Linked DNA regions of Homo sapiens: region 2 is linked to region 1. Evidence: promoter capture Hi-C in 16 types of primary human blood cells and fetal thymus (Javierre and others, 2016). All regions are on one chromosome and are shown on one strand. Each heading gives the region's core, a stretch centred on a gene start or on the middle of the fragment in contact. The rest is flanking DNA. Distances are from core to core; before and after follow the strand shown. Region 1 holds the start of XRCC5 (X-ray repair cross complementing 5). Region 2 overlaps ATIC (5-aminoimidazole-4-carboxamide ribonucleotide formyltransferase/IMP cyclohydrolase).

Region 1 (2,700 bases), core at 121-2,620:
TCTCTTGGAAATCTTACCCGCAGGGAAGGGCGAGTGTCCGTGCCTGCCTGCCTGCCTGCTGCAGCCCGCGCAAAGCTGAGCGGCCAGGGCGCTGCTGTTCCTTTAAAGTATTATTAAAAATAATATTTCAGCTTTTAAGTAACTCCTTGAGTTTGAATCAAAAGCTGGAAGAACCTCCTGGGCTCTATGAGCACCTCTGAATATGTCTGACTCTACATTCTAGAGGCTTCAATGTATTTATAATTTTGGCTCATAGATTCTCCACATCTTTTCAGCTTCAATTCTTGCTTTTCCCAGAAACAATTTTCAAGCAGGAGAGAATATTGATTGGACTTGATTTTCTCAGTTTGGGCAGAGGTTTGCAGACACTTTGCAGGTTGCCAGACCCTTCGTCCAGCCACCTGTCAGCTGGGGGTCATATGGTATAGAAAGCAGTCATTTCTATGCAAGGTACTGCTTGGGCCTGCCTCCCTCAAAGGGGTAGGGGATGCGGGCTGGACAAAGGGCTCGTGATCAAGTAAAGCACTGTGATGACAGCTGCTATTTCTATATCTCCCTAGACTTGTCTTCTAAATTAAACCTTGACTCCTCCCTTCCAAGCTGGAGCCACTGCTAACTACTGGGAGAGCCTTAGCAGATAAAGTCTCATGCCTCCAGGCGTTTGTGCATCCCATTTTCTCTGCAGAGTAGAATCTCCCTTCTACTTTTGTGCTCCTGGGGACGTCCTACTCTTCTTCCCCAGTTGGCTCTAAGGTTATCACATCGGTGAAGTGTTTCATTATCACTTTTTAGAAGAAACTGAGTCTTTTAGAGAAGTTAAGTGACTTTCTGCATTCATACTCATACTCAAGAAAATCTAACTCCACAATAACCAAAAATAAAAAGTAGAAAAAAACCCACAAGTGATGAGAAAAAAAAAAATCAAAAGTTATAAAAAATAAATGAAAAAATGAAATTAAAGGAAAAAAGATTTTTTAAAAAAGTAAAAAAAAGAAAAGAAATCTAACTCCAGAGCTCTGACACAAAATGCCTTAGGTGTTATTCTCAATGAGAGAAAAGGGACGTGAATCTTTAAGTGATTAAGTGAATCTTTAAGTAAATCTGTCGTACTAGCGTTTCAGGCGGCTCAAACACCACACGCTCCCGACTACGGCGGAATGGAGAGAATGTGCGCATGCTCGGCGGGAATCTGCGCATGCTCGGCGGGAATCTGCGCATGCTCGGAGAGAATCTGCGCATGCTCGGCCGGAATCTGCGCGAGCTCGGCGGGAATCTGCGCAAGCTCGGCGGGAATCTGCGCATGCTCAGAGTTCCGGGGCACGGTTTCCCCGCCCCTTTCAGGCCTAGCAGGAAACGAAGCGGCTCTTTCCGCTATCTGCCGCTTGTCCACCGGAAGCGAGTTGCGACACGGCAGGTTCCCGCCCGGAAGAAGCGACCAAAGCGCCTGAGGACCGGCAACATGGTGCGGTCGGGGAATAAGGTATAAAGAAAGCCATGGACTTGGGCTTTACCCGGACTGGGGATCCGGAGAGGGTGGTTCGGAAGCAGGAATCGTGGGATCGCGGTCAAGACAAAGAATGGGGCAAGAGAAGATCATGGTGGTGGGCTCAGTCAGGAGGGCCGGGACCGAGGGATGCGCTATGAGAAAAGCTGGAGATTTGGGGCTCCAAGACCTGAATTTGAGCCTCGCTGACTCCACCTCTTCCATTACCCACCCATCCCATCCCTCTTCTCCCTCTCTACCTGCTCTTTGTCTCACCTGCCTCCCCACCCGCCTCCCCTCTCTCTCTCTTTATCCCATTCCACTCCCTAGCCCCACTTCCTCTATTACTTCCGAGCCTGGGTTCTTAAGATCTCTATGAGAATGAAAATTAGCTGTGATAAAGCAACTATCCCACAGGGCTTGTTGTAAAACTTAAGAGAGGGACTATCTGTGACTAAAATAACTTAAACTGTAAAGCGTCGTATTATTAGCTTTATAATAACGTAGTATCCCGCATTTATTGAAAGCCCACTCTGTGAGGGACGGATCTAAACCTTTTATTCTTATCTCATTTAATCTTCACAACCCCTTGAAGTGAAAACTATTTATCCCCATTTTGCAAGTGGGAAAACCGAGGAATAAAGAACTGTGGGCTTTTCCTGGTGAAATCCGGATTTGAATCCAAGCTGTCTGGTTTCAGGGCCCTGGAGAACCCCTGTGTTGCTAGAAATCTATGACCATTGGTGTCCCAGATCAGTAACAGAAATTACAATGAATTTTAAAGTGATTTTTTTTTTTCAACATAAAAGAGTGGTAGTTGTCTCTGAAGGGTCACTAGAGGGAGATGTGGTTCCAGGGATTAATGAATTTATTCAATACAGATAAACAAGATACGAGTTTGAGCAACTGATCCCTAGTTCCCTCAACTCCTCATTGAGAAATGTTGATTAAAACGATCATGAACTTTTAATAATGCCACTCACCTCCTTTTTTCGTCCTCTTTCAGCTGCTGAAAACTTTGTAGCTCTAGTGGAGGAGCTGTTTGTTGCAGATGAACTGGAAGTAAAATTCTAACAGCCTGTATTGCTTCGGTATAGAAATGAAGAGTTGCTATGCTACCCGGTTTCTCTTTCTCAGTTTTCTTACTGCTGCCAGATAGGAACTCAGAAATATAGACCATTCTGCTTCCAGACAATAAGTTCCATATTTGAAACCCT
Region 2 (2,700 bases), core at 194-2,693, 770 kb before region 1:
TGTATCTTTCGTCATGTCAAATCTCTGATTTAATCTGGTCTTGCTGTTAAGGAAAACGCCTTGCCGGAAGAGGTCATTTAACCATGTACTAGGAGAGTCAGGACTAGAATGTGCTCTTGCTCATTCAAAACACTCCCTGAAGAAATATTTCCTCCTGAGGTACATGTGTTAAGAGCAAATCAGTCATATTTTCTTAGTTTAAACTGAAACGAACAAAAACTTGGAGAGGACAGAAAGTTAGGATCTGCTATACAGAAAGCTGTATTCTAATAGATTTCTCTTTTCAAGTATAGCGTTAGCATTGTTTGTTGGAGGCAGAAACCAGAATATGCTGCCACATTATTTAAGACTGATAATTGCTGCTAGATTTTTTTAAGAGGTGTTCTCTGATTTTTAAAAATAGAAATTAAAATTTAATATTTTTGCAGGTATCTGATGGTATAATTGCCCCAGGATATGAAGAAGAAGCCTTGACAATACTTTCCAAAAAGAAAAATGGAAACTATTGTGTCCTTCAGGTGAGTGCAATTCATGTTTGAAGCGGTAATTTGCTCTTTTATTCTGTGTCTCTTTCTCCCTTGTTTACTCTTTCCTTTATACTCATACCCTTCTAGTTTATCCTTATTATAGTTTATTTTCCCCAATCCTGCATTTAAAAAAATACTATTAACTTGGGGTTTTGAGATGAGAGTAGCTTTCTTACCCTCAATTTTAACTTTTTGCTGGTTGTGATGGCTCATGCCTATAATTTCAGCCACTTGAGAGGCTGATGTGGGAGGATGGCTTGAGGCCAAGAATTGGAGGCTGTATTGTGGTACTATGATGCCTGTGAATAACGACTGCACTCCAGCCTTGGCAGTGTAGTAAGACCATGTCTCTAAAATACTAATAATAGTAACAATATTTAATGGAAAGTCTCTCCATCCTTCTGTTACCTTTTGAAAAGATAACTATTTTAAATTTCTTGCTTATCTTTCCTGAAATAGTCTATGTATTCAGCAAATATTTGCATGTGCATTTCTTTTTCTATTTTCCTATTGACACAAGTGCACCCTGCTTCACCTTCTTGGAAGTTTGTCCTGTATCTGTGTATTTTAACTTACCTAGACAGTCACCAATCTTTAGCTACTACAAATACCCCTGCAGTGAATAACCTAGAAAAGTCCTGAGAGTGAAATTAAGGCTTAATAACAAGCTCTATGTATATTGGTAATCTTAATTGATACTGCCCCTTTTAGATGTTGTAGGCAAATTCATTGTCCTAACTGAAATATATAAGGATGCCTGTTTCCCAACACTTTTGTCAGCATTGTGGTTTTATACTTTTAAAAAGTCTCTGCAGTTAGAAAATGGCATCTCAATGTAGTTTTAACATTGTGTGTGGTATGAGCATCTTTTCATGTTTGAATGTTTTTATTCCTTTCTATGAACTGTCTTTCCATATTCTTTGATGATTTTTCTACTAAGTTGTTGTTGGCTTTTTTTTTTTTTTTAACTGATTTTTATGAGCTCTTCTGTATTGGGAAAAGTAGCTCATGGTCTAAGATTATGCATTGATAAAGCAAAGAGTTATTTCAATTTAAAGTAAAAATTCCTAATGCTACTTTTCATAGTATTGATATCAGAACTCTGTGGAATCCTAATTCCTTACAAGGAAAGTTATTAAGTATATTCTTTTGATTGTAAGATACCAATAATTTTATAGTTCACCATAGATTCCATGTCAGCTATTTAAGGAAAGAAGAGAATACCACATTAAAGTTAATACTTATTTTTTTTTAGCCACTTGACAGTCTGTTGCCCAGGCTAGAGTGCAGTGGTGTGATCTTGGCTCACTGCAACCTCTGCCTCCTGAGTTCAAGCGATTTTCCTGCCTCACCCTCCCAAGTACCTGGGACTACAGGCATGTACTACCAGGCCTGGCTGAGTTTTGTATTTTTAGTAGAGACAGGGTTTCACCATGTTGGCCAGGCTGGTCTCAAACTCCTGACCTCAAGGGATCTGCCCGCCTCGGCCTCCCAAAGTGTTGGGATTACAGGCGTGAGCCACCGCGCCTGGCCCCCAGTTTCTTAATCAAGTTTTTTTTTTGTTGTTGTTGTTAAGAGTGTTATGTACTTAACAACCATTAGCATTTTCTTGTAGCATCATGGAAAATATTTTCCAAAACCTGAGTCATTTTCTTGATCTCTTTAACACCTGATAGTTGGAGAGTGTCAAAGGAATATCAGGACTTCATTGGTATTTTACTTATTTGAGAATTTGGCTTAGTTTGCACATTGGACGCATGATTATAAGCATGAGACAACTTATCCCTCTACCTGACTAATGATAAGTTTCTCCTAGCATCAGTTAATAGGAGAGCATATCAATTTTAGAAATTTTATAGTGCATAATACAAAGGAACATTTTAGAATTCAAGAAAATGTAGATTAAACAGAACTAATATTTACGGGGTCTTGCTTATAAATTATATGTCAGGGCTTTCTAAATCAAAGATCATCCAAAGCATAAAGAAGAAATAGTGTCAAGTTTAAAAAAATATCCAGGGAGAGAGTAGTGTTACACGTATTGTTCCACACACCTTAATGTTCTTTCGGCTCAAAATTTGGGAGAGGAAGATGGCAGTAAATGATACAAATTCCTTCCAAATAGCAAAGACACAGATTACAAATCCTGTTTTCTCACTTTTAGCTTTCAATT

Evidence for each region. Contacts are between HindIII fragments. The CHiCAGO score rates a contact against its expected background, and 5 or more counts as called.
Region 2: a fragment that was not itself captured here is called in contact with the fragment with the promoter of XRCC5 in region 1 in 2 of 17 cell types (total CD8 T cells and naive B cells); the score reaches 6.2 in total CD8 T cells.

What each region holds. Positions count from the first base shown.
Region 1 is chr2:216,107,978-216,110,677 of GRCh38, forward strand. XRCC5 (X-ray repair cross complementing 5) reads left to right here and starts at 1,371. Exons shown (of 21, transcript NM_021141.4): 1 at 1,371-1,480. The coding sequence starts at 1,460. RefSeq lists an enhancer at 1,095-1,716. The HindIII fragment of the contact is 16,954 bases long and covers 1-2,700 here.
Region 2 is chr2:215,335,607-215,338,306 of GRCh38, forward strand. ATIC (5-aminoimidazole-4-carboxamide ribonucleotide formyltransferase/IMP cyclohydrolase) reads left to right here. Exons shown (of 16, transcript NM_004044.7): 11 at 429-518. Among named protein-coding and RNA genes, the nearest start is that of ATIC, 25 kb to the left of the region's middle. The HindIII fragment of the contact is 4,008 bases long and covers 1-2,700 here.